7 separate regions of the Homo sapiens genome follow, and regions 1, 2, 3, 4, 5 and 7 are each linked to region 6. The links are contacts of gene promoters, found by promoter capture Hi-C in blood cells and fetal thymus (Javierre and others, 2016). All regions are on one chromosome and are shown on one strand. The core of a region is centred on a gene start or on the middle of the fragment in contact, and the rest is flanking DNA. Distances in the headings are between cores, read along the strand shown.

Region 1 (4,254 bases), core at 1,570-4,069, 490 kb after region 6:
CTGACAAATTTCAAGGTAGCATAAACATCATTCAGGAAGAAGTTGTAGCTTTTCCACTTACCACAAAGGGTAAGATAAAAGAATGGGCAGGCTTATATTATAAAATGCTTCAAAGGGATCTTATGGAAGGAGTCTAGCCTAATTCAGTCTTCCAAAGGAATAAAGCACAAATAGAATAACCCAGCGTTCACTAATATTAACCTCAATGGTGGTAATAATATCTAATACATAGTGAGGCCTTTACTTTATCAGGTACCACACTAATTATCTTAGCTGCATTAGTACCTTTAATCCCCAACTATAGAATATCTCTTTGTTTTCAGACAGGGTCTCACTCTGTTGCGCAGGCTGGAATGCAGTCCAAGAACATACATCTAATGAACTGTAGAGTAGGAAGATAAATTCAGGCGATTTGATCATACCCTGATTTAACCCCTCTACTGGACTGCCTCAGTGATTAACAGTCACTATCCCAAATATCCTCTGACACTCAATTCTTCCTCCATCTGCAGCATTACCACAGAATTGCCCACCAATAATTTATCTGATTTATTTTGATAAAAATTAAGTATTAATTTACATCTTATTATAATTCCAGAATACAAAATGACGCTTTGGCGCAGAGATAACTAAAAATTCTAGTATTAAGTAGGTGGGAAATGTCACACCACCACCTGAAAACTCTGGCATGTAGTCAAAGCATTCACATCTTCTAGATATATAATAAATCCACAAAACGGAACCACACAGTCCTCATTCTACCATTGTGCACACAAGTCCTTTAACTGGCCATTAGTGGAAAATGCGACATACCTACGGTACCTTGGGCGGTAAGTTGGATTTCGATGAACCGGTCCCTGAAGTTGTGCTCCCTCTGGGACTCCATCCTTCATCTCTCCAATCTCACCAGCCTGGAGAGGCAATGAGAGCTGACAGTGAGTGTCACAGCACAGGGGATAAGATACAGTGCATACAGCTATGTTCAGAATTTTTTTTAGAAGTAAAAAACAAAATGCTTCATTACAAAATTAGGCACTCTCAGTTGCAACACAAACTATTTATGAGTAAATCTTCGTGAACGACTGAAAAGGAAGACAAACCTAGTCTGACTAGAATACTCATTTGCTTAGTCCCAGAGCACCTAACTTTATTTTCGCCTATCAATTTAACATTTTGAAATCGGATACATTTCATTCATCTCTTTAAATAAAATACTCTTTTATTTTTCTTTACAACAAACTTACTTTAAGCCAGTGGAATAAAATTAACTTATTGTACAACTTCCAGGGGAAAGAAAGAACAACTTAAAAAAACAAAAAAACCCACCAACAATGTCTGCAATTCTTGACCATACAGCCATAACTCAACTTTCTTTTCTTTTCTCAAAACATCCCTTCCTCCCCCTAAGAGCCAAATACTGTCCTTCATTATTTCATCAAGAAAGAGAAACAGTCAGAAGACAATTTCCACGTTCTCATTAGCAAATCTACCCAGCTCCCTGTATTTACATTAGAATTTTCTTCTCTCCCATTACCCTGGGTAAGTGGTCCAAGTTCATATCTGAAACCAACAGCCTCTCTATTCTCATCAACTAGACACAGCATGTTAACGCTATCCCTTCACTATGTTTTCACCTTTTCTATCATTTCCATCCAAGCATATATACCCAGTGAAATAGCACCCATCCTTTTCAATTTTTTAAAATTTTGAAATAAGCACAAAGTTACAGAAAAGTTAAATGTAATTCTCAGATCCCATTCAAGTTTCACCATTTATCCCAATGATGCCCTTTATAGCAAAAACACCGTTTAGAATTATGCACTAAAGTAAGTTATATCTTTTTGTTTGGAGCAGTTTTTTTTAATTTATTTATTTGAGATGGAGTCTCACTCTGTCGCCAGGCTGGAGTGCAGTGGCGCGATCTCAGCTCACTGCAACCTCTGCCTCCCTGGTTCAAGCGATTCTCCTGCCTCAGCCTCGCAAGTAGCTGGGACTACAGGCATGTGCCACCACTCCCAGCTAATGTTTTGTATTTTTAGTACAGACGGGGTTTCATCATGTTGGCCAGGATGGTCTCAATCTCTTGACCTCGTGATCTACCCACCTCAGACTTCCAAAGTGCTGGGATTACAGGCATGAGCCACCACGTTGGTTTTCATGACCCTGATACTTCTTTAAAGATTACAAACCAGTTATTTTGTAAAATATCCCTCAACTTGGGTTATTGGTGTTCACTAATGATTAGATATTGTTTTTGCATCCCCAGGGGGATGTCACAAAAGTGACACTGCATTCTCCTCACTGCATCCTGTCAGGTGGCATATAGTTTCAATTTGTGCCATTACTGATAATGTTCACTTTGATAAGTGGTTAAGGTGGTATCTGCCACCAGAGTCCTCCACTGTAAGTTGACTCTTTCCTTCTTTGTAATTAATGAGTACTTTGTGAGGAAGTACTTACAAAGTGCATAAATATACTATTCGTTATCAAATTTTTCAATATATTGGTTTATTTATTTATATTTGTATGGACTCATGGTTTTCTATTTTTTTCAATGAGTTGTAATCTGTTACTATCATTACTGGCCAATGGGAACCCCTTCAAGCTGGCTCATATCCTATTGATGTGTTTCCAACATTCTTTGAGTACTTCTTCGCTTTCTGGCACAACAAGATGTTCCAGGCTCATATTATACTTTCTCTGTCCCAGCTCTGAAATCAGCCATTTCTCCAAAGGGAATTCTTTTTGTTTGAGAATGTTATTTAAAAACAAAAAATTGGGGGACAGGTATGCTCAATGCTGTTACTAAGATATCACGGCTTTCAGGACCTTTCAGTAGACAGAACCATGGAACACACACACACAATGTTACACATATATGTGTGTCTATGTATGTGTGTATATATATATGTGGGTTTATGGCAAACACACGTGCCTACCTTGATCTGCCCATTTAATGGCTTTAGAAGTTGTTGGTGAGGTAACGGGTAAGGGAGAGACCAGGGGTAACTCTGCATTGTAAAAAGCAAATCAAATCAAGCAAAAATCTTGCTCTGATCCCTTATCTTCTTCCAGCTACTACCCCATTTCTTTACAGACATACATACTAAAGAAAAACCAAACACCATGACCACCACTACAGAAACCTCAATGGGGAATATGTCTCCTCTTCCCGCCCTTTGCTGTTTCTTAAGTTCATTCTATTTAAACTTTTGTCTTCACCAAACCACTGACCTCCAAGTTACCAAATCTAATAATCAATTCTCAGCTTAATCTCTACTTATCAACAAGCATTTAACACATTTCTTTCTTGAAATACATTCTCCTTGGCTGCTCCTTCTCACTGTCCTTTGCTAGACAATCCTCATCTTCCTAATCTTTAATCGTTGGTGTGTCCCAGAACTTGATCCTAGGACCCTATTTCCACCTACACTCACTTTATAGTTAATATCATCCTGCCCCTACGGCTTTAAACATCCTGTTTTATAACTCCAAATCAGCCAGGAGCGGTGGCTCACGCCTGTAATCCCAGCACTTTGGGAGGCCAAGGCAGGTGGATCACAAAGTCAGGAGATTGAGACCATCCTGGCTAACACAGTGAAACCTCGTTTCTACTAAAAATACAAAAAATTAGCCAGGCGTGGTGGCGGGTGCCTGTAGTCCCAGCTACTCAGGAGGCTGAGGCAGGAGAATGGCATGAACCCAGGAGATGGAGCTTGCAGTGAGCCGAGATCGTGTCACTGCACTCCAGCCTGGGTGACAGAGTGAGACTCCATCTCAAAAAATAAATAAATAAATAAATAAATAAATAATTCCAAATAATTATTTGCAGTTCCATTTCTCCCCTTCAGACTCCCATTCACGCCTTTCCTGGGACCTGATGGACTTGATCCCTTGCTCCATTTAGGTCTCTTCTCAAATACAACTTAATGAACTCCCAAAAATGTTGTCAACCACTGTATCTAAGACTACACCTTCCATCCTCCAGCCACTTTCTACCTCTTCCCTCTGCTTTATTTCTTCTGCCTACTTAACACCTCCACTTGTACGTGAATTTAATATGAGAAAAAGACCTCCAAAGAATTTTCACCTTTCCCTCCAAACCCAATCTTTCTTCAGTATTCCCGTATTTGTTTAAATCAAAACTGCAGAGGTATTATTTACTCCTCATACAATATATTACCATTCCTCATACTCTTCACTCAATCCATCATGAAATGCCAACACCTCTATATGCTTAAAACATTTTCCAAA
Region 2 (3,958 bases), core at 475-2,974, 450 kb after region 6:
CACTTGTATATCTTCTTTGAAGAAATGTACATTCAAATCCTTTACCATTTTTTTTTGATTGGGCAATTTGTCTTTTTATTGTGTAAGTACCCAGTATATAGTCCAGAAACTAAACCCTTATTAGATATATCATATGCAATATTTTCTTCCATTCTGTATGTTGTCTTTTCACTTTTGATAATGTCCTTTGAAGCATAATAGTTTCTAATTTTGACAGTTTTGTGTTTGATTGCTAGTGCTTTTGACGTGTGTCTAAGAAACCATTGCCCAACCAATATCACAAAGATTTACACTTAGGTTTTTCCTAAGAATTTCATAGTTTTAGTTCTTATATTCAGGACTTTGGTTCATTTTGAATTAGAGGTAAATGTCCAACTTCATTCTTTTGCACGTGAATATCCAATTGTCCCAGCATAATTTGTTAAAGACAATCTTTTTCTGCTCTTTATTATGATTAAAGATAGTCTTTTCAGCCTTATTATTACTAGAGATAATGTCTCACTTTGTGACCCAGGCTGGAGTGCAATGGTGTGATCAGAGCTCATTGCAGCCTCAAGCTCTGGACTCAAGGGATCCCCCTGCCTCAGCCTCCCAAGTAGCTGGGATTATAGACACGTGCCACAGCACCCAGCCCACACAATCTTGACTACTGTAGATTTGTAGTAAGTTTTAAAATCATTAAAACTTACAGGCGCGGTGGCTCACGCCTGTTATCCCAGCACTTTGGGAGGCTGAGGCGGGAGGATCATGAGGTCGGGAGATCGAGACCACAGTGAAACCCGTCTCTACTAAAAATACAAAAAATTAGCCAGGCGCGGTGACAGGCGCCTGTAGTCCCAGCTACTCGGGAGGCTGAGGAAGGAGAATGGCGTGAACCTGGGAGGCGGAGCTTGCAGTGAGCCGAGATGGCGCCACTGCACTCCAGCCTGGGCGACAGAACGAGACTCTGTCTCAAAAAAAAAAAAAAAAAAAAAAAAAAAAAAAAAAAAAAATCATTAAGTGTGATTCCTCCAACTTTGTTCTTTTTCAAGACTGTTTTGGCTATTCTGACTCCCTTGCGTTCTCATAAATTTTAGAATCACTTTGACCATTTCGGAAAAAAAAAAAGGCTGGAATTTTGATAGGGATTATGTTAAGGATGTAGATCAATTTGGGGCGTACCACTATCTTAACAATATTAAGTCATCCCAGTTAAGAAAACTATATGTCTTTCCATTCATTTAGGTCTTCTTTAGCTTCTTTCAAGGATACTTGGGATGTTTTGTAGTTTTTGGTGTACAAGTAACATTTGTTGATAATAAACTTTATAGTTCCATGGCCTTTAAAGGTTAAACCAGAATTTGTGTGTGATTTGGTGAGACCACAGAATGTTCTGTCTCCGAAAGAATCTGTCCTAGAACAGGTCGGGCAACAAATGCCTCCCAGTCCCAGAGACTAGCCAGAAATGCATTCTATGTGAAGCAGCATGGTGTAATATAAGGCCACTGTTGATCCTTCTCATACCTGGATAAGTAGACAGAATATAGGGCACTACGTTCTGTAGTTGTCTTGGTGTCAGAACCCAGCTCATTTTCCCCTGACAGACCACAAGGGATGATCTAAATTTCTCAGGTTGTCATGAATTGCAGGGACAAGAGAGTGTGTCCAAAGAATTCACATCCCTAACTTCCTATTAATATAAATACTTCTATTTATCCATCCTCCTACAGAGACCACTGCTCCCTAGGCACCCAAAATATGTCTGACTGAGATTCTAGTAAAAGTCCACAAAGATGCAGCCCCCAATATCACCTCTAAACCCTAAACTCAGGTGTAAAGATGCTAGTACATCTAGCACAGAACAGAGAGTTCTATGCCAAGGATCAATGAACTTCTTTTTGTGAGCAATCGATCTCACACACTATCTGAATATTTATAAACCCACAACCTGTCACTAGTTATGTCTTGCTGATACTGCCAAATCTTTATTGTCCGTCTGTTTGTAGATATCCTAAGGTCATACTTTTATGACCTTAGTTCAAGTGAGCCTGTCTCTATTTCCTAGTAAATGTTAACTCAGCAAATTAAGAATAATTTGTTTTAATGTTAGCCCCCAAAAAAGCAGACTTAGAAAAATGATTTTGGTGTGGGAGGGGAGATTATAATTGTAGTTATAAATCACATTAGGTTTACCTACACTCCTTTTTTTCTAATGCTGCAAAACTGGAATATTTTTCCAAATTATCCCCATTTTTGTAATAGGAAATCATTTCATAATAATTCATGGCTATTTTACCAACTTCATATTGCATGTGGAAACCAAGTTTAAGTGAAAAGGTGACATGCATAAGTCAGAAAATGAATCAGAGATCTAATCAGATGTGGGACCTTCCAATCATGAATCCATTAATTAGACTGTCCCTAAGTATGAAATATGGGTGAGGAAAAGAGACAGAGAGTGAAATCAAGGTCACTTGGGGTTATGGGAGCTGCTTGGGCTTCAAGAAAGAACGCAAACACAGCAGGTTCAACTCTCAGTGTCAGAAAGCCATGCCGTTCACACGCTGTAAATGAGGTAACCATCCCATGCCTTCTGTACCACTATGATCACACCTCCCTGTTACAGAAACAAAAAATGTAAGAACAGCAACCCTGCTGTCTATTTCTTGATCTCTTTGACAAATACACTATGAAATGCAGAGCATGCTTCACAAATGCCGTAGAATGCCCTATGTGTACAAGGGTGCTTTGAAAGCAACAACAAAAACCTAACTTCCAAATTTACTGGTGGGGGAATTAAGGCACAGAGTTCAGACACCTCCCAGCAGTTAATTAGCAGCTAAGCATTGTGTGTTGAATCTCCATCTGATGCTCTTCCCACTACACTTTCCCACCCTTCATAAGGCTGACTGGATATTCCATCTATTTTTTTCAGTTGAGTTTTGTAGGGATGAGAACCAGGAAGAAGATCCTGGCCCTTGCAATTCACAATGTGCATACACTGTCACAGTTTCTTCTGGAACTTTGGGATGCACATGTGTCCAGACTAGCCTCTGCCAATCTCTACCAGATACATGAAGGCTACAATATTTATATCCCAGCTGTGTTTTCATTGATGGAGCTTTAAGAATATTCTAATTAATACTCTGCTTCTTTTTTCTTCCTCAGCCAGAACTCACTCTGACTTATACTAAGATATCAGCCCCAAGGTAAGTTAAAGGAGCCAGGCCTTGAGCCCTGTGAGGAAAGACCACAGAAGTAGGAGTCAGGGAAGCCATGTGGTTTCACATCAGATGGGCTGGATTTGTGGAATCTGCGAATAAGTCTTATAGAATAAATCTCACCACAGGGAAGTCAGGATCAATTTTCAGCATTCCGTTTGCCTCTCTCCTCCTTCCTTAAGCCAAACCTGTTAATTCTACCACTAAACAAGTCCTTTCTTGCTGTTATAGCTTCTTACTGGCCAGAAGTGGTACTAAATTTGGGCCCAGGCTGAAGAGGTGTCAAAGAGCATGTAGGTGAGGGTCAACCAGGAGCTTTTCCTGTCTAAGTGAAGCCAGCCTGATCTGACTTAACAGAGACTTTGGAGAAGTTGATTTTAAGCCTTTTTTCACTGACACAAACTAGGGGTGACTTGACATACAATTGGTCCTGATAGCTGACTATTGTCAGAAAAAATAAGCACTTGAGATCAACTTCTCTAAACACCAAATTAGCACCTTTGGCAAATATTTTTCACCACTTATTTGGTAGCATAATATGAATATAACATAATACTGTCTCCTAAAGTTGTCCAACACAAACCCTGCATTCATCTCCCACAACACAGTACATCTGGTTAAATCATTCAATGTCTGAGTGTACAACTAAAACCAATCATTTCAAGGCTTTTTCCAGAAAGGCACCTGACTTCATATGTGGATATTACATGTTGATATGATTTGGCTCTGTGTTCCCACCCAGATCTCATCTCAAATTG
Region 3 (3,855 bases), core at 1,032-3,531, 430 kb after region 6:
GTGAATGCAAAAACTGAAATCCCAGGAAACTCTACATTCTAGTTCATTATACTGTGCCATTGTCAGTTTCATAATTTGGATAATTTACTACAGTTATTTAGATGTTCCCATTGGGAAAATTGGTAATTGTTACATTGGATTCTATACTATTTTTGCAACTACTTGTGAACCTTTAATCATTTCAAATTGAAAAGTAAAAATGAGTATTAGTTTTGCAGCAATTGAGTAATAAATTGCAGGTGATAATAAATACATACGAGAATATCAATTGTGAAACTAATAATTTCATAATCATTTTTTGGATTACAGTAGTGACAGTAAAAAAAAGAAAAATAATGGATTGGAAACCTTGAGGAGATTGAACCAACAGGACACAGTGGTTGTAGAAGGTAAGAAGGAGAAGGAGAAATCAAAGAAGAGGAGATGATGAGTTGTTCTGGACATTTTGATTTAAGATGCCAGTGTGACTTTTAAGTAGAATATTAGAAAAAAGCATTTGGTTGTACAGTTCTTAGGATTCATAAGGGAAGTCTGGACCAGAGATAAATATTTGGGAGTCATTAGATAATATTGAAAGCTTGAAAGTGAATAAGAGAGAAAGAGGAAAAAATGAACAAAAAGGAAAAAGAGAAGAGAGGAAAAGAGGGCCTAGGAAAGAATCCATGGAGTTCCAACGGATAAGGGCTACATGAAGGAAGAGGAATTGGGGTCCAGGGGGAAACTCAAAGAGGGCCTAAGAAGGAAAAACTAGAGAAGTAAAAGGGGAACCAAGAGTTTGTGCTGTTGTGGAAGCAAAGGAGAGGGGCATGGACAACAGCTGGGCTAAAATCTGATGACAGGTCAGGAAAACAATAAGTAGCAGATACAGGCAACATGGAGGTCACCCATCATAGAAAGAATAGCTATAGTGCAGTGGCCAGAGAGCAGGGTGGTTCTGGGAATGAATAGGTGGTGAGGATGTGGAGAAAATGTGTTTAGGGGGCTCTTCTATGATCTTTGCGACCTATATGAATGAGAGGACTGAAAAGAGGAGTTCAGAGAGAGATTTCACAGTTGATTTCTTTGGAAACTTAGGGCTCCAGCAAGATAAGAAAGGGAACTGGTAATACCCCAACATGCAGTAATCTCTCATTCTAAAAAAAACAAAGCAAAGTTTGGTATGGAGAGGCCTGTATCAGGCATAAATGTTTTACAAAGCCTAAACACACACACCCACACACACTGAAAAACAGAGAGATAGATTAATAGAACACATAAGTATCCCAGAAAAAGAGACACATATTTAGGACTTTAATATAAAGAAGTCAGCAAGAATCAAAATAAGCAGATGAGTGGTTCTCAAACCAGAGAGCACATTAGAATCTCCTAGGAGGCATTTTTAAAAAATATCAATCCTGATGTTCATTTCCCACTTGATATGGTTTGGCTGTGTCTCTACCCAAATCTCATCTTGAATTCCCATATGTTGTGGGAGGGACTCAGTGGGAGGTAATTGAATCATAGGGCCAGGTCTTTCCCATGCTGTTCTCATGATAATGAATAAGTCTCACAAGATCTGATGGCTTTATAAGGGGGAGTTTCCTTGCACAAGTTCTCTCTCTTTGCCTGCCACCATCCACGTAAGATGTGACTTGTTGCTCCTTGCCTTCCACCATGATTGGGAGGCCTCCCTAGTCACTTGGAACCGTAAGTCCATTAAACCTCTTTCTTTTGTAAATTGCCCAGTTTCATGTATGTCTTTATCAGCAGCGTGAAAATGGATTAATACAGTAAATTGGTACCAGGAGTAGGGTGCTACTGAAAAGACAGCCAAAAATGTGGAAGTGATTTTGGAACTGGGTAACAGGGAGAAGTTGGAACAGTTTGGAGGGCTCAGAAGAAGACAGGAAACTGTGGGAAAGTTTGAAATTCCCTAGAGACTTGTTGAATGACTTTGACCAAAAGGCCGATAATGATATGAACAATGAAATCCAGGCTGAAGTGGTCTCAGATGGAGATGAGAAACTTGTTGGGAACCAGAGCAAAAGTGACTCTTGTTATGTTTTAGCAAACAGACTGGTGGCATTTGCCCCTGCCCTAGAGATCTGTAGAACTTTGAACTTGAGGGAGATGATTTAGGGTATCTGACAAAGAAATTTCTCAGAAGCAAAGCATTCAAGAGGTGACTTGGGTGCTGTTAAAGGCATTCAGTTTTATAAGGGAAACAGAGCACAAAAGTTTGGAAAATTTGCAGCCTGACAATGTGATAGAATAGAAAATCCCATTTTCTGAGGAGAAATTCAAGCCAGCTGCAGAAATTTGCATAAGTAACAAGGAGCCAAATGTTAATCACCAAGACAATGAGGAAAATGTCTCCAGGGCATGTCAGAGACCTTTGAGGCAGCCCCTCTGATCACAGGCCCAGAGGTTTAGGAGGATAAAATGGTTTCATGGGCTGGGCCCAGGGTCCCTCTGCTATGTGCAATCTAGGGACTTGGTGCCCTGTGTCCCAGCTGCTCCAGCTGTGACTAAAAGGGCCAAGGTACAGCTTGGGCTGTTGCTTCAGAGAGTGAAAGCCCCAAGCCTTGGCAGCTTCCATGTGGTGTTGAGCCTGTGGGTACACAGAAGTCAAGAATTAAGGCTTGGGAACCTCTGCCTAGATTTCAGAGGCTGTATGGAAATGCCCAGATGCCTATGCAAAAGTTTCCTGCAGGGGCGGGGCCCTCATGGAGAACCTTTGCTAGGGCAGTGCAGAAGGGAAATGTGGGGTCGAGCCCCCACACAATGTCCCTATTGGGGCACCACCTAGTGGAGCTACGAGAAGAGGGTTACCATCCTCCAAAACCCAGAATGGTAGATCCACCAACAGCTTGCACCATGTGCCTGGGAAAGCTGCAGACACTCAACACCAGCCCATGAAAGCAGCCAGGAGTGGGGCTATACCCTGTCAAGCCTCAGCAGCAGAGCTGCCCAAGACCATGGGAACCCCCCTCTGGAATCACCATGACCTGGATGTGAGACATAGAGTCAAAGATCATTTTGGAGCTTTAAGATTTGACTGGTCTGCTGGATTTCAGACTTGTATGGGGCCTGTATCCCCTTTGTTTTGGCCAATTTCTCCCTGTGGAACAGCTGTATTTACACAATGTCTATATCCCCATTGTATCTAAGAAATAACTAACTTGCTTTTGATTTTACAGGCTTACAGGTGGAAGTGACTTGCTTTGTCTCAGATGAGATGTTGAACTGTGGACTTTTGAGTTAATGCTGAAATGAGTTAAGATTTTGGGGGACGGTTGGGAAGGCAATATTGGTTTTGAAATGTGAAGACATGAGATTCGGGAAGGGCCAGGAGTAAAATGATATGTTTTGGCTGTGTCCCCACCCAAATCTTATCTTGAATTCCCATGTGTTGTGGGAGGGACAAAGTGGGAGGTAATTGAAACATGGGGGCAGGTCTTTCCTGTGCTTGTGAGAGTGAATAAGTCTCACGAGATCTGATGGTTTTATAAAGGGGAGTTTCCCTGCACAAGACAGTTCTCTCTCTTTGCCTGCCATCATTCACATAAGATGTGACTTGCTCTGCCTTGTCTTCTGCCATGATTGTAAGGCCTCCCCAGCCACTCAGAACTGTAAGTCCATTAAACCTCTTTCTTTTGTAAATTGCCCAGTCTCAGGTATGTCTTTATCAGCAGCATAAAAACGGACTAATACACCACTCCTCTTAGAGATTATGATGATTATAAACCCCATAGATTATGACTTCAGATATCAGCTTCAATCAAGGAAATGCTTCCCAGGAGATACTAACATACAGCTGGGGTTGAGAAGTACTAAGATAGATTATTCATCAAATGGAATTTAGGCAATGGACTA
Region 4 (3,860 bases), core at 601-3,100, 490 kb before region 6:
TTTTTTTTTTTTTTGAGATGGAGTTTCGCTCTTGTTGCCCAGGCTGGAGTGCGGTGGCTGCGATTATGGCTCACTGCAACCTCCGCCTCCCAGGTTCAAGCGATTCTCCTGCCTTAGCCTCCCGAGTAGCTGGGATTACAGGCATCACCACCACACCCGGCTAATTTTGTATTTTTTAGTAGAGACGGGGTTTCTCCATGTTGGTCAGGCTGGTCTCGAACTCCCGACCTCAGGTCATCTGACCACGTTGGCCCCCCAAGTGCTGGGATTACAGGTGTGAGCCACCGCGCCCAGCCGCCACCTCTGTATTATCACTGTTTTCTCTCTCCAGGTCTGCATCACAATGGACATGAAGAATTTCTGCTTCTCTCCAGTCATTTCTGTGAGAGTCTGGTGGAGTTTGTAGAGAAATAGCCTGGGAGAGGTGGTGGGATTTTCTAATTTCTGCAGACCCCAGGAGCTTCACACTGTTCTGCCACCCTACACTTATCCCTAATCCATCTTTCAATTATCCTGGCTGAATTCTTACTGGTATCTGGTGTTGGATTTGTCTATCCTAAATAAGCAAGGATGTGTTTCCTCTCTCTCGCATGTGCCTGTCACCATAGATTTTGGCCAGCTGGTTGTTCTACAGAGTTCATTCTTCAATGGATTTGAAAATGTTGAGAAGTTAATTTGGCTATTTTCCATTATAGAAGGGGTAGCAGCATTTCTTTGAGATATCTGCAACATGGAAATGAAAGCCACACATCTCCCTTACTTCTTTTTATGCCTCTTTCCCTGCCCCTCTGCCCTCCTTCTCCTTTTTCCTTCATACTTCTTATTTTATTTGCCATATGATGACACTTGGATACCCTAGATGGACTAATAATCCTTTTTTTTTTCCATTTTAACTTTAACTTACTTGAGAACTTGAGAATAATCGCTAGAAAATGATTTTATATTTATTGGAGTAAATGTTCTTCTGTAACATATTTTATCTGTTTTTTACTTTTCTTTTTTGGGAGATGTTTAGAAAGGGACATGCTTATGCATAAATCATACACTAATTCCTTTTAGAGTCTTGTTTATTCTTGAAAGGGAACAATTGTGTCTGACTCATATATTTACTTAGGAATGATGTGAAGAGGTAAAGCTTAAACTGGAGGAAGTAAGTTTCCGTTAAAATGTGTTGTCTTAGATCACCGTTCTCCTAAATCTGGTTTACTGTTTGCTGAGAGACATGTTTTTCTGCATTTTCACATTTTTCCCTTTGACTGTGAGCAGGAGATATATGAGATTCTTAGTGAAGTCATTCATTGCGCAATGGCTCCAAGCTATTATTTATTGTTGATTCTTTAGACAACACTCTTTTTAGATGCTTTTTAGTTACTCCCTGCTTCCTCTTTCTTGTTCATTAAAATTTGCTCTAGAAGAACAAACAAAGGTCTCTTATCAATTCCTAATTCCATCCTTGATTTGGCTCATAGTTTGCTGCGCCTGACAGAGCCTTACAGTTTGACATTTGGGGTAACACTAGTTTCACTGAAGATATTAATAGTTTACTTCTCTTTTAGTTTTTCTTGGTGTGGATTTCTGTGACACTCAAGAGGGACTTTTTCCCTCAGATGTCTCAACAGCTGCCCTTTTCTAAGTTCTTTCAGATGGCGCATGTTCAACCAGGTTTGTAAAGCACTGCTAGCCACAGGGTTTGCAGAAACTGAGCTACTGACATAGCTTGTGATTCTAACATACTGAGCCCCATGAGAACCCTTATTTAATATTTGTAATTTAACATGTACATTGACCTTATCACTGAGAAGGTTTAAAATAGTGTCCAACCTCCATTCAGCAAAACTTCAATTTAAATTAAGGCAGAGTTAGCTAAATGTTAGCTATCCTCTGGAAATACTAAATCTAAGTAAGAGATACTGTTCTGCCTTCCCTTTCTCACAAAATCTTCCTTAATTTCAGCTGCTGTGATACCTGGCTACAGCCTTTATGAGCATTGCAATAAACATGTGTGCTGAGATCATATACTCAATTTCTTAAGTTTTAAAATGAAATCTGCTAAGAAGCAATGGTCCCTTGGAGAGAAGAGCTTGGTATAAAACATAAAATGAATTTCCCCTCCTCCTAGCCGGAAAAAAAAAAAACCTCAAAGGTAATCATGTAATTCAACAATTCATTCAACTAATATTTGTATAGTTAATAACACATGAAGTTGAAACTTCTTTTCACAGACTTTTGCCAAGTTTGTAGCACAAAAAATTCACTGCCAGTGTGGGGGATGCTGTCACCTCTAAATGTTAAATCTCACCATAGCAGTAATGTCTTGAATCACCATGAGATATGAATTGTTTATGGCACAGTCATTTTGACTTTTGTTCCAAGATTTCTTAGTTTCAGCAATCCAGTAACATTTTCCCTTATGCACCTTCCAGTCTTTGGCAGGACATGATTTATGGACAGTAGAAAAGTTGAAAGAAACTGGAAGAAAGGAAGATAAGCAATTAAAATCAATGTAAAACTGTATCCTAATAATGTATACTAATTGAAGGGTCTCAAATTTGGTTATATTATGTGCTAAGCTTTCTTTGAAAAAAGTATGTGCTTTGTTCCAGGGTACATTTGAAAAAAAATTAAAAGAATTGAAGTCATGTGTATATTCATTAATTCATTCACTCATCCATCCTTTTTCCATTTAATTTATCCTTTTAAAAATATATCATGTTTTCTATAAGCCAGGAAATGCACCAGACACTAGGATAAAACAATGAACATCCAAGCTTCAAGGAACTAAAAACTTTAAAGGAAGAATAGAAATTAGAAATTTTAATTAGTTGTCTACTAACACATCAGAAATGTTGGGAGTTTATATCACACTAGTATAGTTATTCACAAGCAAAATTTGTGCTATAGGCAGTCCCCCAAAATCAAATAGGTTCATCTCTATTATCACACAAAACGATCTTGACATCTAAAAATGTGCTCTTAACAGCTAGTTCTAATTTATAATATTTCCCAGCAAATTTAGATGATGATACAGGGTATTCTAGATATACCAATAATTTAGTATTCCTGTAAATAAATATTCTTTACACACAGAGACAGACAGACACACACACACACACACGCACGCACACACATGACCTGAAGCCATTGAAGAGTGAACAAAGCCAGACAGATTCTAGAGGGGAGATGACACTTCAAAGAAGGTATGGCAGGGCAAAAGTTTATCATTTTTACAATTGTTAGCCTTAGGCCAATTGTAGTCCCATGTAGAGTGAGTAAAACATCATTAAAAAACCTGCAGCCTTTCTCACCTGAATAACCAGAGAACAGAGTTAAGAGAAACCACAGATGCTGAAAATGAAGAATCAATTCCATAAAATCAAAAACATAGAGGGGGTGCTCTAACTTGTGTGTACAATTTTTTTCCCCAAATCTCTGACTGATGCAAGCACAAGCCAGGTTATGGTAAGAACAAGACAACCGAACTGAGACTTGACCTGCTGCCCCAAAGATAGAGATTTAAATTTAAGTCCAACTACACCAATTGCTTGCTAAGGAAGGAAAATTGGCCAGGTGCAATGGCTCACGTCTGTGATCCCAACACTATGGGAGGCTGAGGCAAGCAGATTGCTTGAGGTCAGTTTGAGACCAATCTGGCCAACACGGCAAAATCCCATTTCTACAAAAAATAAAAAAAAATTAGCCAGTCATGGTGGTGTGTGCCTGTAACCCCAGCTACTCGGGAGGCTGAGGCAAGAGACTTGCTTGAGTCTGGGAGGTAAAGGTTGCAATGAGCCCAGATCATGTCACACTGCACTCCAGCCAGGGTGACAAAGCAACTCCATGAAAAAAAAAAAAAGAAAAAG
Region 5 (4,275 bases), core at 858-3,357, 470 kb before region 6:
AAACCCTGAGCTAGATACAGAGTGCCTATTGGTGTATTTACAATCCCTGAGCTAGACATAAAGGTTCTCCACGTCCCCACCAGACTCAGGAGCCCAGCTGGCTTCACCCGGTGGATCCCACACCGGGGCTGCAGGTAGAGCTGCCTGCCAGTCCCATGCTCTGCGCCCGCACTCCTCAGCGAGTCGTCCTCAGTGGTCGATGGGACTGGGCGCCGTGAAGCAGGGGGCGGCGCTCATCGGGGAGGCTCCGGCCGCACAGGAGCCCACGGAGAGGGTGGGAGGCTCAGGCATGGCGGGCTGCAGGTCCCGAGCCCTGCCCCGCGGGAAGGCAGCTAAGGCCCGGCGAGAAATCGAGCGCAGCGCCGGTGGGCTGGCACTGCTGGGGGGCCCAGTACACCCTCCGCAGCCGCTGGCCCGGGTGCTAAGCCCCTCATTGCCCCGGGCCGGCAGGGCCTGCCGGCTGCTCCGAGTGCGGAGCCCGCCAAGCCCACGCCTACCCGGAACTCCAGCTGGCCCGCAAGCGCCGCGCGCAGCCCCGGTTCCCGCCCGCGCCCCTCCCTCCCACACCTCCCTGCAAGCTGAGGGAGCCGGCTCCGGCCTTGGCCAGCCCAGCAAGGGGCTCCCACAGTGCAGCGGTGGGCTGAAGTGCTCCTCAAGTGCCACCAAAGTGGGAGCCCCGGCAGAGGAGGCGCCGAGAGCGAGCGAGGGCTGTGACGACTGCCAGCACGCTGTCACCTCTCAAAAGCAAGTCTGTTATTCAGAATTTCAATTAATTCCTCTGTCTTTAGTAAAGCACGTCCTCCCTTAGCCTTGCCTAGAGACTCTTACTCTGAATTCAGGCTCCTTTTGGTTCAGTAATGCCAGGCAATAAACTTCCAATCTTCAGTAGACATACAGGGTTGCCGTTTGGTTGTTCAAGGGGCTCCTTGTATATATTTTCTACTAATTCCCCAGTTTTCCCCCATATTGAACCCATACGGTATTAGTTTTTTATTGCTAAATAACAAATTACCTTAAGCTTTGTGGTTTAAAACAATGCACATTTGTTATCTCATAATTTCTGTATGCCAGGAGTGTAGGCATGGCTTGGGTAGGTGCTACGCTTCAGAGACTCACAAGGCTGCAGTGAAGGTGTTGGCTGTGGCTCTCATCTCCTCTGAGGCTCATCTGGGGAAGGATCTGCTTCTAGGCTCACATGGTTGCTGGCAGCATTCACTTCCTTGTGGGCCATCAACTGAGGGCCTGAGTTTCTTGATGGCTACTAGCCAGAGGTAGCCCTCAGTTTCTTGCTGTAAGGACTTTCCCGACATGGCACCTTGCTTTCTCAAAGCCAGCCATGAAAAGAGTCCCCTCTGGCAGACAGTTATTATAATCTTAGGCACATTCCATTCCATTCATGTAATCATGCATATACCATTACCTTTGCTGTATTGTATTGATTAGAGGCAAATCACAAGTCCTATCCACATTCAAAGAGAGGAGATCACACAAGAGCTTGAAGACCAGAACACGGGGATGATGGGAGCCACCATAGAGTCTGTGGTGCATAGGGTCTCTGATGCTTTAGCGTCCAGGGAACTATGGCCTAAGTTACTGAACATAGTCCAAACTTTGTAGACATTTCTCATCTATGCCTAGTTGCTCCCAATCATTTTTTATTCTATTAAATGTTTTTATTAATATAATTTTTACTGAGACTTTAGAGAAAGCAGAAACAAATACATCTGTTGAATATTACAAATGTACCTGAAAGTACCCTATTGAATTTTTAGGTAGCCTTTGTTAGTTTGAGAATTAAAACAAAAAAACTTCACATCTATGAGAAAAAAAATCAGATATATTACTTTTAATGTTTTATTGAGTTTTCTTAAAGAGCAACCTAATTTAGAATATTAATCAATGAGTTTTCAAGGCCACTTGATATATACATGCCAAAAAGTTTCCATTCAGAGAAACATCGGGTTAGATTTGTATTAATAGATTAATTTTTATGAAATTTCATACAAAATTTATAAGATTTATATTGAATGTGTTAATTTATGTGGAAATATTCATATGAAAGTAGCAATCTTAATTTACACTAAACTTATAAATACAGTTTGATGATTTGATTAGCTAAAAGCTAACATTTACTAAGAACATTGTGTGTGTCAGGTATTGGCTCATTTAAGTCTTCTGGTATCACAACTGTAGGAGCTAGGCACCTTTATTATCCCATTTAAGTGCTGATGAGGAAAACAAGGTACTTCACTCAAAGTCACACAGAAGGATAGGAGTTGAGCAGAAATTTGAAACCAGATTACTTGACACCAAAGCCTATAAATACAATGGTTAAACTATATTGCTTTCCCTGAAACTGGAAGTTGAGATTAAAAATGATGTCCTCCCTTCAGGGAGCTGATTTTCTAGTATGTCAATAAGTAAGTAATTTACTGACAATTGATATACAAAACAAAAATGCCCCAACAGAGCACGCATGAGATTTTACCGCAGCCCACAGGTGCATCAGAGAGGAAGTGCCACTTGAAATAAGATGTTACATTGACATAAATAAGCATTTAGTTTTACTAAGAAACAGAGATGATGAATCAGTGGTCTAACCACACTGAAATGGGCGGTGAAGAAGCATTTTCAGGTTTTGCAGCAATTTGTGTTAGGCTGGTTTGTCTTTGTCATTCTAGGGTTTTAAAAAACTTCATACAAATGGAATCACACAATCTCGTGATCATTTATGTTTGGCTTCTTTGCTTATCAGTAGGTTTCTGATATTTGTTTGTGTTTTTGCATGTGTAACGGGTATAGTGCTTCTTGTATGGATGCTGCAACATTTATCTATTTTATAGTTGATGGACATCTGATTCCAATTCAGGGCTATTATGAATAAAACTGCTATGAATATTGATTCCTGTCTTTGGGTGCACATACATGTTTGTTTCTATTAACGAGTGAGTGGAATTCCTGGTTCACAGAGTATGCTGATGTGCAGCTTTAGTAGAGATGACCAAATTAAGATGGTTATTAATTTGAACTTCCTTCAGGTTTATGAACATTTCAGTTGATCTAAATTCTCACCAACCTTTGGTATTCTCAGATTTTATTTCTGTTTATTTCTTTAAAAATTTTAGATATTCTAGTTGGTGTGTAGTGACTCCTTTAAGTTTTTTCATTTCTCTGATGACGAATTTGAGTGTTTTGATAAGCTTTTTTGCCATTTTGGTGTCCTTTTTCTGGGAAATCACTTCTGTAGTCTTTTTCTCACTTAAACATTTGTTGTTGCCTGTCTTTTTAAACCGATTCATGAGTTTGAAAACTCTCACTCTCCCATTCTTTGCTGAGAGACTTTGCGTGCACTTGGGGGCACACCCTGGACCCTCAGCAAGCAGTTCGCTGTGCTGTTCCTTCACTTCCTGCACAGGCTGAGCTTCGAGGTCAGCCAGAGGTGAGAGCTTAGGTTCTTCTCAGGTAACTCCTGAACCTGTTTACAGCCCTGTACATTCACACTGCACAGGCTGAGCTTCGAGGTCAGCCAGAGGTGAGAGCTTAGGTTCTTGTCAGGTAACTCCTGAACCTGTATACAGCCCTGGACATTCACACTGCCCTGTGCTTTTGCACAACCTTCAAGATTCCAAGAAATATGTTGGAGATTTTGAAGCCTACTATAGACATCTCATTTCCAGTTTTTTTTTTTTTAAGTTTTCATCAGCTCTTTGTCTCAGTTTTTATTATATTGCTGCCTCCGGAAGTTAAACAATTATCCCTGGTGTTTTTGACAAACACCCTCAGAAATTATGGAAAGAGTAGACGAATTTAAATAGTCTGGAAGTGAGTAGGCAAGCTTCAGCAACAGTGCAAGCTGGAAGAAAAGGAGGTGTTCTGCCAGTAGGGGGCCCTGTGTGATTGAAGTTGCCATAAACTTTGACAAAAATGAAACCAGGCATTCAGCTTTAAATATATATATAATTTGAGACAGAGTCTCTCTCTGTCACCCAGGCTGGAGTGCAGTGGCAGGATCTCAGCTCGCTGCAACCTCCCCCTGCCAGGTTGAAGTGATTCTCTTGCCTCAGCCTCCCGAGTAGCTGGGATTATAAGCACCTGCCACCACGCCTGGCTAATTTTTGTATTTTTAGTAGAGGTGGGTTTTCACCATGTTGGCCAGGTTGGTCTCAAACTCCTGACTTCAGGTGATCCACTCGCCTTGGCCTCCCAAAGTGCTGGGATTACAGGCATGAGCCACCATTCCCATCCAACGTCCTATATTTTTGAGTGTCAAAATAC
Region 6 (3,905 bases), core at 425-2,924:
CCCGGCCTATTTTTATTTATTTATTCTTTTTGAGACAGAGTCTTGCTCTCTCTCCCAGGCTGGAGTACAGTGGGCGATCTCAGCTCACTGCAGCCACTGCCTCCCGGATTCAAGCGATTCTCCTGCCTTAGCCTCCACAGTAGCTGAGACTGTAGGAGCGCGCCACCATGCCTTGTTAATTTTTGTTTTTTCTGTAGAGACAGGGTTTTGCCATGTTACCCAGGCTGGTCTTGAACTCCTGAGCTCAAGCGATCCTCGGCCTGGGCCTCCCAAAGTGCTGGGAGAACAGACGTGAGCCACCGCGCCTGGCCCCCTGTGGGTGTTTTTAAAATTAGAGACACTGAGACCCCGACTGAAGAAGATAGGCCACGGGGCTGCTGTTATCTAATATTTATCAGAACTCACCCGACTTGTATGGGCAACGCAGCCCCTTTTCACTGTTCTTTTTCTTTGCAAACTCCACAGTCCTCCCTGTCGCTGCCCTACAGTACTGGTTGGAAGGTCTTTCTTCTTTGACTCTAGGTGGGGAAATCCAGAACGAGGCTTCGCCTCACCTGCCCTAATGCCCAATCTTCTACTAGCATTCCAGGCAGCGCTTTCTAGTCACGTGAGGGATACCTAACCACTGGAACTAAATAAGATGTGGGGGAACAACTGAGGTCATCACCTAAATTGCTTGATACTCTCTTTTCCAGAAGACGAGCCCCCTTTCTGAGTTTATGGCAGAAAGTGAATCCCTCCCTCCCTCCCTTCCTTTCTTTTTCTGTAAGACGGTGTTTCGCTCTTGTTGCCCAGGCTGGAGTGCGACGCCGTGATCTCCGCTCGCCGCAACCTCCGCCTCCCGGGTTAGAGCGGTTCTCCTGCCTCAGCCTCCAGAGTAGCTGGGATTACAGCCATGCGCCACCACGCCCAGCTAATTTTGTATTTTTAGTAGAGACAGGGTTTCTCCATGTTGGTCAGGCTGGTCTCGAACTCCTGACCTCAGGTGATCCGCCCGCCTCGGCCTCCTGGGATTACAGGCGTGAGCCACCGCGCCCGGCTAGAAAGTGAATCATTTCTATATTTGATTGTACGTGAAGCCCTCGGTAGTCCTTACTGACATCATGTCTCCTTTAGACTTTGATTACACTCCGTGTCCTTCATCTGACTCCTCTCTTCAGATTCCTGAGTCACGCTCTGTTTATGTTGCTGTTCAGGAGCGAACTGCGGCACCGCCCAAACACTGTGACGCCAGCGCGGGAGGAGGGCCGCGGGAGGGGCAGCGGAACGCGCAGAGGGCACGGTGCAAGCACGGGACAGCTCTGCATTGGCCAAAGGGATCCCAGGAGGCCTGGCCCTCTTTTCTCCTGAGGCTGGATCCCAACCAGCAGGAAAAGGCTGGATTTTCGCCTTTTGTATTTGTTTTGGGGCCCAACCAAGAAAAACAGTGGAGGGGGAATAAAACATGTTTAAATCTTTTTTTTGTCTTAAAACCATCTTTAATTTCACAGTCACAAAATAAAACATAACTCGAATGTTTTGATGTTTGCAGTGACATCGATTGTGAAAAAGGTTAGCCAGAAAGGAAACGCAGTGAGACAGAGCGCTCGGCCACCCCCTGCCCTGGGCGCCTGGCGCATGGGGGGCGGGGCGGGGCTCGCGGGGTGACGTCACAGCCCGACGCGCCACCCAGCTGTTTTTGTGCTCCCAGCTCTAGCGAAAAGCCGCCGGTATTTCTCCATCTGGCTCTCCTCTACCTCCAGGCAGGCTCACCCGAGATCCCCGCCCCGAACCCCCCCTGCACACTCGGCCCAGCGCTGTTGCCCCCGGAGCGGACGTTTCTGCAGCTATTCTGAGCACACCTTGACGTCGGCTGAGGGAGCGGGACAGGGTCAGCGGCGAAGGAGGCAGGCCCCGCGCGGGGATCTCGGAAGCCCTGCGGTGCATCATGAAGTTCCAGTACAAGGAGGACCATCCCTTTGAGTATCGGAAAAAGGAAGGAGAAAAGATCCGGAAGAAATATCCGGACAGGGTCCCCGTGAGTGTAGAGGAGCGGAGGGGATGGGAGGGGAAGGGCCCGCGGGGGCGGGGGCGGGTAGTCGAGATGGCTTCCCTGGGGCGCCCAGGCGGCTCTGGAGAAGGGAGGTTCCGAGAATTACTTAATCCTGAACGCCCTTCAGTGCCAGAGCCAATGGACGTCCAGACTGTAGAGCTTTTAAAACCCCGTATGCCTGGGCCCCGAACCCCACTTCAGGGCTGACGGCGTTTTGGGGGCCGAGCCGCCGTCTTCAGTGACTCAGCAACCCACACACGGTCTCAGCAGCTGAGACCGTGTGTGGGTTGCGGTGCACAAAATAGGGCCCCTGTGGGCGAGACTGGTTAGATCGGGGCCATGGATTGGCTGCCTTTAAGAACGCAGGGACATTGTGCTGTGCGGTGAGGTTTGCGCAAACCCAGTCGATTTCTGCCTTGGCTGGTTCTCCTTTAATGAAGTTGACTTTGGCTCTCATATCATTGGTCTTGGGACGAAAAGGTTCAGAAGCTATTCAGTAATTTTCTTGCATTACAGGGGGTTAGGGGAGCACAAGACAGTCCTGGCCTGGAAAACAAGGTCACGTTCTCTGCCCAACAGCCCTCTTGCCTCATCGTTCTAGGCTCCGGGGCTTGTGTGGGGACAGCCAGCCTCCTCGTGTTGATTTCTGATCACCTGGTACCTGGTCGCGATAAGGCAGGACTGAGACGTTTTTTCTCCGTTTTGGACACCGGCTTAAGTAGTTAAAACTACCGCAGGCAGTGAGTAGGAACAGAAAAGTATTAGGTATCTTTCAGCATCCGGGCGTTTTCCCCATTACCCCCTCCCCCGCCCACTTGCCTGGTGTTTCTCTAATGCAGGCTGCGCAGCCGAATTGGAGGGCAGAATATGGCTTAAGTGGTAGGGGGACCAGCAGCTGTTGGATTTTGGAAATGGAGGAGCGGAGATTTTAAAATTGTGCTCTTTATCTTCAGGTAGGAACATTAGTATTACGTGTCACATAATGGTAAAATAATTGCTGTTATCTGATGTCTTTTCTTGACTCACAGCCACTCTGGGTTTCTTCTCTAATCCTTACCTAACGTTCGTGGTTTTATAGCTACCAGAAGCCACCAGGGCCTTAGCCCAGCAGTAGAAACCTCTTGTAACCCTTTTCCTTTAAAAAGAAAAAAAAGTCATTAGGGCTCTTCATTCCCCAGGAATTACAAAAAGGTTTTCAGCTTATAGAGGGGTGAGCTAATCCCTTACTCGGGAAAGGATCCTTTACAAATTACTTTCCTGGTTTCTGGACCTTGGATACCTGAAAATTTTGCCCAGTTCTGGTGATACCAATCTTTTGAGCAATGATATTTAAAAAATACAATCAAGTTTTATTGATAGTTTACCCTAGCGGTATTATAAGTACTCAGTCTGTAATCATTGACTTACTTCCTTACACGATTACCCGTTCTACAGATGGAGTATTCAAAGCACAAAGAAATGCAGTAACTTCCTAAAGGTTTCACATTGCTGATCTGTGGTTGAGCTGGAATTCCAACCCTGTCTGAAGGACTGTGGAGCTCTCGGGTATCTTAACCTCCATGCCATATTGTTTCTCAGTTTCTAATATAGTTGTATTAACCAGAATTAATGACGTGCTGTGGACTTTACACTGTTAAGTATTGGAAATAGATAAATATTTATGTGCATTCACTCTGAATATTTTAGAGCATTCTGTTCTTTTCCTGCTCATAGTTTGGTGTTAAATGTTTTACTCCTGTGATAATTTTTAAGCCATTAAGCCTGTCACTCAGATTTCAGCTTTCCTAGGGTTATGTTTTAACCAGTGGTGAGCTGCTCCCAAGGTGACCAGTCTGTGACCTTCTTTCTAGTTATGACGCAGGTTCCTTGATTT
Region 7 (4,214 bases), core at 318-2,817, 470 kb after region 6:
ACATGTAATATGTATATACACACATACGTGTATATATGTATGTGTGTGTATCTGTGTGTGTATGTATATATTTTATACATGTATAAGTGCTTTTTTTTCTATTTGGACCAGAATTTTTTTTTCAGCTGTTACAGTCATTGAAATCAAATACCATATCAAACTGAGCAAAGAAACAGATTTTCAAAACACATATCACAAAGTATTAAGACAATACCTTTTTATAAATAATGAAACATTTTAAATCACATTATTATTAAAATATCTGAGTATGAAGAAGTTTGTTACATTAACAAACATCTTCTGAAAATATTTGATCTTTATTTTTTGTGTGCTTTATAACATGTGCTATGAGTGTAGTCATACATATATGGAGATTATATATTAAAATGTCTATTGGGGTGTGTTTCCTTTTTTAAATTTTTTAAAAAATTGGAACAAATAATTAAAAGATCTATCTATCAATCGATCTATCCGTGGAGAGAGAAAGAAGTGGGGGTATTATGAGGAATCGGCTCACATGATTATGGAGGCTGGCAAGTCCCACAATCTGTCATCTGTGAGATGGAGACCTGGGAAAGCCAGGGGTATAATTCAGTCCAAGTTTGGAGGTCTGAGACTCAGAGGACCCTATGGTATAAATTCCAGTCCCAGGCCAGAGAAGATGAGATGAGATGCCCCAGTTCAAACAGTGAGGCAGGGAAAATGGGGCAAATTCCTCCTTCCTCTGCCTTTTGCTCTGTTCAGTCCCTCGGTGAATTAGATGATGCCCACACACACTGAGGAGGGCAATCTACCTTACTGAGTTCACACGATCAAATGCTAACCTCTTCCAAAACACTCTCACAAACACATTCAGAAATAATGTTTAATCTGGGCGCCCTGTCGCCAGTCAAGCTGACATATAAAATTAACCATCTCAAGTCTACACCGTGCCAACTTGGCACCCATACACATCTTCTAAACCATACTTTAATCTCCAAATAAAGAAAACAACAATGTCCTAATTCCACCTAACATGATACAATTACCCTGCATAAAACAAAAATTGGCAATTACCCTTTTCCCAAAAAAGGAGGTAAAGTCCTTGAGCAGTGTGTACTCTTCTCCTTGACATCCCTTGACTTAAATATTATGATATAAAATAAATATCAATCCTCTATATATGTGAGTTTCAAATCCACAGATTCAACCAATTGCAGATTGAAAGTATTCATTAAACAATGGATGATTGCATCTTTACTGAACATGTACAGACCTTTTCCCTGTCATTACTCCCTAAACAATAGGGGATACCAATTGTTTATATAGCATTTACATAGTATTAGGTGTTATAAGTAACCTAGAGATGATTTAAAGTATATGGGATGATGTACATAGGTCATATGCAAATACTATACCACTTTATATAAGGGACTTGAGCATCTGTGAATTTTGGTATCAGCAGGAGGTCCTGGAAGCAATCCTCCATGGATACCAAGGAACAACTGTACTTAAACACTATGGCTATACAATGAATATATCTTATGCTACATGATAAGGGAGTAAGAGAGGAAAGAAAACAAAGATGCACACAAACACAAATGTATTCATGGCAAAATAAGGAGGAAGTACTCATGATGATTACAGTCCTTATTTCTGTAAGCGGTCACGTGGTTGTAGCTGGTATTTGTAATACCGTCTTTCACTGCCTATTCCATGTTCCCTTTGCTTTTAGCAACACCTCAGCTGGTCATGATTCTTTATCAGGCGATGTGACCAAAACCTTCATTTCTGAAGGATCTGCTCCCTTAGTCCTCCTCCCTAGGCTGGGTTGTTATAGTTTCATTGACCTTAAACACAGAGCATGTAATCTAAGAGATGCCCTAAAGGATCTCCTGTATTCCAGACATGTTTTCTTCCTTATTTCCATTGCAAAGCAGTTGTCCCATTTTGCCTTAGGAGTCAGGATTTTCCCCTGCTAAGGTCAGTATTCACATGGGACACAGGAGAGGTCTATACATATAGCTCTTCTACAAACATTTTTTGCCACCAATTTTTCAGTCGTGTTCCTGCCAAATCCCTGAGCATCCAGTGAAACCATTGGCCACAGCCCATAAATCAGTATATAACCACATGTTTAGCCATTTTCTGTTACAAGCAAAGTAAACAATCAGGTGCACTTCTCAAAGTTCAGCCCATTGGGGGATTTCCCTTTACCACTGTCCTTCAGGGATGTTCCATAGTGGGGCTTTAGGGCTGCAGCTGTCTAATTTCAGGTAGTGCCTGCATATAGTGCAGAATCATCTGTAAACCAGACCTAAGTCTTCTCTTCCTCTGACCATTGATCACAGGGAGCTCCCAGTGAGGCTGTAAGTGTAGGCTGGGAGAGAGAAGGCAGTATAGCTGGAGTGGGCATTTGGGCCACTTTTCATGTAACCTACCTGTGCCTTTAGGCCTGCTCAGGCCTGATCATGTATATACCACTTCCATTTGATGATGGAGTAGTGCTGGCATACCCAATTTTATGGTTTGGGGAGCCAGATAACACCCAGTTCATGGTGGGTGGCTCAGGTCCAGTTAAATTAGTGACCCGTAATTAAGTAGTCAGTCTCTACTAGGCCCAGTAGCACACCAAGAGTTGTTTATCATAAGAATAGTAGTTATTTGTGGATGATGGGGCAGGGCCTTGCTCCAAAATCCTAAAGACTTGTCCTATGATTCACCTAAGGGAACCTGCCAAAGGCTCCAAACAGCATCCTTATCTGCCACTGATACTTCAAGCTCCATATGGCCCAAGTACCAGAGCAGCTTGCACAGCAGCCTGGACCTGTTGCAGAGCCTTGCCTTGTTCTGGGCCACACTCAAAACCCGCAACTTTTCAGTTCACTTGTAAATGGGCCAGAGTAACACACCCAAATAAGCAATATGTTCCTTCAAAATCCAAAGAGATCTACTAGGCACTGTGCCTCTGTCAGGGGCCAGATGCAACAACATATCCTTCACCTTAGAAGAGATATCTCAACATGACCCAAATCACTGCATCCTAGAAGTTTCACCAAGGGAGAAGATCCCTGAATTTCCATCAGATGTATTTCCCACCCTCTGACATATAAATTTCTTACCAATAAGTCCAGAATAGTTGCCACTTCATGCTCATGAGGTCCAATCAGCATAAGTCATCAATGTAATGAACCACTGTGATATCTTGAAGAAGAGAAAGTCAGTCAAGATCACTGAGAACTAAATTATAACATAGGTCTGGCAAGTTGACCCACTGATATGGTTTGGCTCTGTGTCCCCACCCAAATCTCATCTCAAATCATAATCCCCACAAGTCAAGGGAGGGACCTGATGGGAGGTGATTGGATCATACGGGCAGTTCCCCCCATGCTATTCTCATTATAGTAAGGTAGTTCTCATGAGATCTGATGGTTTAAAAGTGGTGCACTTTTCCCTGCCCCCTACTGCCATTTTAAGATGTGACTTTCTTCCCCTTTGCCTTCCACCATGATTGCAAGTTTCCTGAGGCCTCCCCAACCATGCAGAACTAATAAAATTTGACTGTGTCTCCTCCCAAATCTCAACTTGAATTTTAGTTCCCATAATCCCCACATGTCATGGGAGGGACCCAGTGGGAGGTAATTGAATCATGGGGTTGGTTACCCCCATGTTACTGTTCTTGTGAGTTTTCATGAGATCTGATGGTTTTATAAGGGGCTTTTTCCCCTTTTGGTTGGCACTTCTCTTTCCTGCCACCATGTGAAGAAGGGCATGTTTGCTTCCCCTTCCTCCATGATTGTTAAGTTTCCTGAGGCCTCCTCAGCTATGCTGAACTGTGAGTCGATTAAACCTCTTTCCTTTATAAATTACTCAGTCTCAGGTATGTCTTTATTGGCAGCATGAGAAAAGACTAATACAGGAACTGAGTCAAGTAAACCTCTTTTCTTTGTAAATTACACACTCTCAGTAGTTCTTTATAGCAGTGTGAAAATTGACTACTACAGAAAATTGATACTGGCAATTTGGGGCACTGCTATAAAGATACTTGAAAATGTGGAAGTGACTTCGGAACTCAGTAACAGGCAGAACTTGGAACACTTTGGAGGGCTCAGAAGATAGAAAGACAGGGGAAAGTTTAGAACTTCCTAGTTAACTTGTTGAATGGCTTTGACCAAAATGCAGACCAAAAACTTCTTTCCTTTATAAGTTACCCAGCCTCAGGTAGTTCTTTATAG

The links. Contacts are between HindIII fragments. The CHiCAGO score rates a contact against its expected background, and 5 or more counts as called.
Region 1: a fragment that was not itself captured here is called in contact with the fragment with the promoter of GABARAPL1 in region 6 in 3 of 17 cell types (naive CD8 T cells, total CD8 T cells and M0 macrophages); the score reaches 9.0 in naive CD8 T cells.
Region 2: a contact is called between a fragment that was not itself captured here and the fragment with the promoter of GABARAPL1 in region 6, in 2 of 17 cell types (naive CD8 T cells and total CD8 T cells). The highest score is 9.2, in naive CD8 T cells.
Region 3: a fragment that was not itself captured here is called in contact with the fragment with the promoter of GABARAPL1 in region 6 in 2 of 17 cell types (total CD8 T cells and naive CD8 T cells); the score reaches 7.8 in total CD8 T cells.
Region 4: a contact is called between a fragment that was not itself captured here and the fragment with the promoter of GABARAPL1 in region 6, in 1 of 17 cell types (neutrophils). The highest score is 5.1, in neutrophils.
Region 5: a fragment that was not itself captured here is called in contact with the fragment with the promoter of GABARAPL1 in region 6 in 1 of 17 cell types (neutrophils); the score reaches 7.2 in neutrophils.
Region 7: a fragment that was not itself captured here is called in contact with the fragment with the promoter of GABARAPL1 in region 6 in 2 of 17 cell types (total CD8 T cells and naive CD8 T cells); the score reaches 12.7 in total CD8 T cells.

The regions. Positions count from the first base shown.
Region 1 is chr12:10,703,238-10,707,491 of GRCh38, forward strand. YBX3 (Y-box binding protein 3) reads right to left here. Exons shown (of 10, transcript NM_003651.5): 7 at 814-911. Among named protein-coding and RNA genes, the nearest start is that of YBX3, 18 kb to the right of the region's middle. The HindIII fragment of the contact is 9,991 bases long and covers 1-4,254 here.
Region 2 is chr12:10,662,646-10,666,603 of GRCh38, forward strand. The region is part of intron 1 of STYK1 (serine/threonine/tyrosine kinase 1); the gene reads right to left. Among named protein-coding and RNA genes, the nearest start is that of STYK1, 9.4 kb to the right of the region's middle. The HindIII fragment of the contact is 6,775 bases long and covers 1-3,958 here.
Region 3 is chr12:10,644,330-10,648,184 of GRCh38, forward strand. The region is part of intron 1 of STYK1 (serine/threonine/tyrosine kinase 1); the gene reads right to left. Among named protein-coding and RNA genes, the nearest start is that of STYK1, 28 kb to the right of the region's middle. The HindIII fragment of the contact is 3,412 bases long and covers 576-3,855 here.
Region 4 is chr12:9,720,345-9,724,204 of GRCh38, forward strand. CLECL1 (C-type lectin like 1) reads right to left here. Exons shown (of 2, transcript NM_001441815.1): 2 at 2,148-2,469. The coding sequence ends at 2,282. Among named protein-coding and RNA genes, the nearest start is that of CLECL1, 11 kb to the right of the region's middle. The HindIII fragment of the contact is 1,435 bases long and covers 1,134-2,568 here.
Region 5 is chr12:9,739,402-9,743,676 of GRCh38, forward strand. No RefSeq gene overlaps it. Among named protein-coding and RNA genes, the nearest start is that of CLECL1, 8.4 kb to the left of the region's middle. RefSeq lists a cis regulatory region at 1,038-1,290 and enhancers at 3,809-3,878, 3,899-3,968. The HindIII fragment of the contact is 2,182 bases long and covers 1,017-3,198 here.
Region 6 is chr12:10,211,203-10,215,107 of GRCh38, forward strand. GABARAPL1 (GABA type A receptor associated protein like 1) reads left to right here and starts at 1,675. Exons shown (of 4, transcript NM_031412.4): 1 at 1,675-2,017. The coding sequence starts at 1,928. GABARAPL1-AS1 (GABARAPL1 antisense RNA 1) reads right to left here and starts at 3,865. Exons shown (of 3, transcript NR_170310.1): 1 at 3,440-3,865; 2 at 2,852-3,167; 3 at 2,447-2,760. RefSeq lists an enhancer at 912-1,454 and a silencer at 1,548-1,807. The HindIII fragment of the contact is 15,130 bases long and covers 1-3,905 here.
Region 7 is chr12:10,683,960-10,688,173 of GRCh38, forward strand. No RefSeq gene overlaps it. Among named protein-coding and RNA genes, the nearest start is that of STYK1, 12 kb to the left of the region's middle. The HindIII fragment of the contact is 5,756 bases long and covers 1-4,214 here.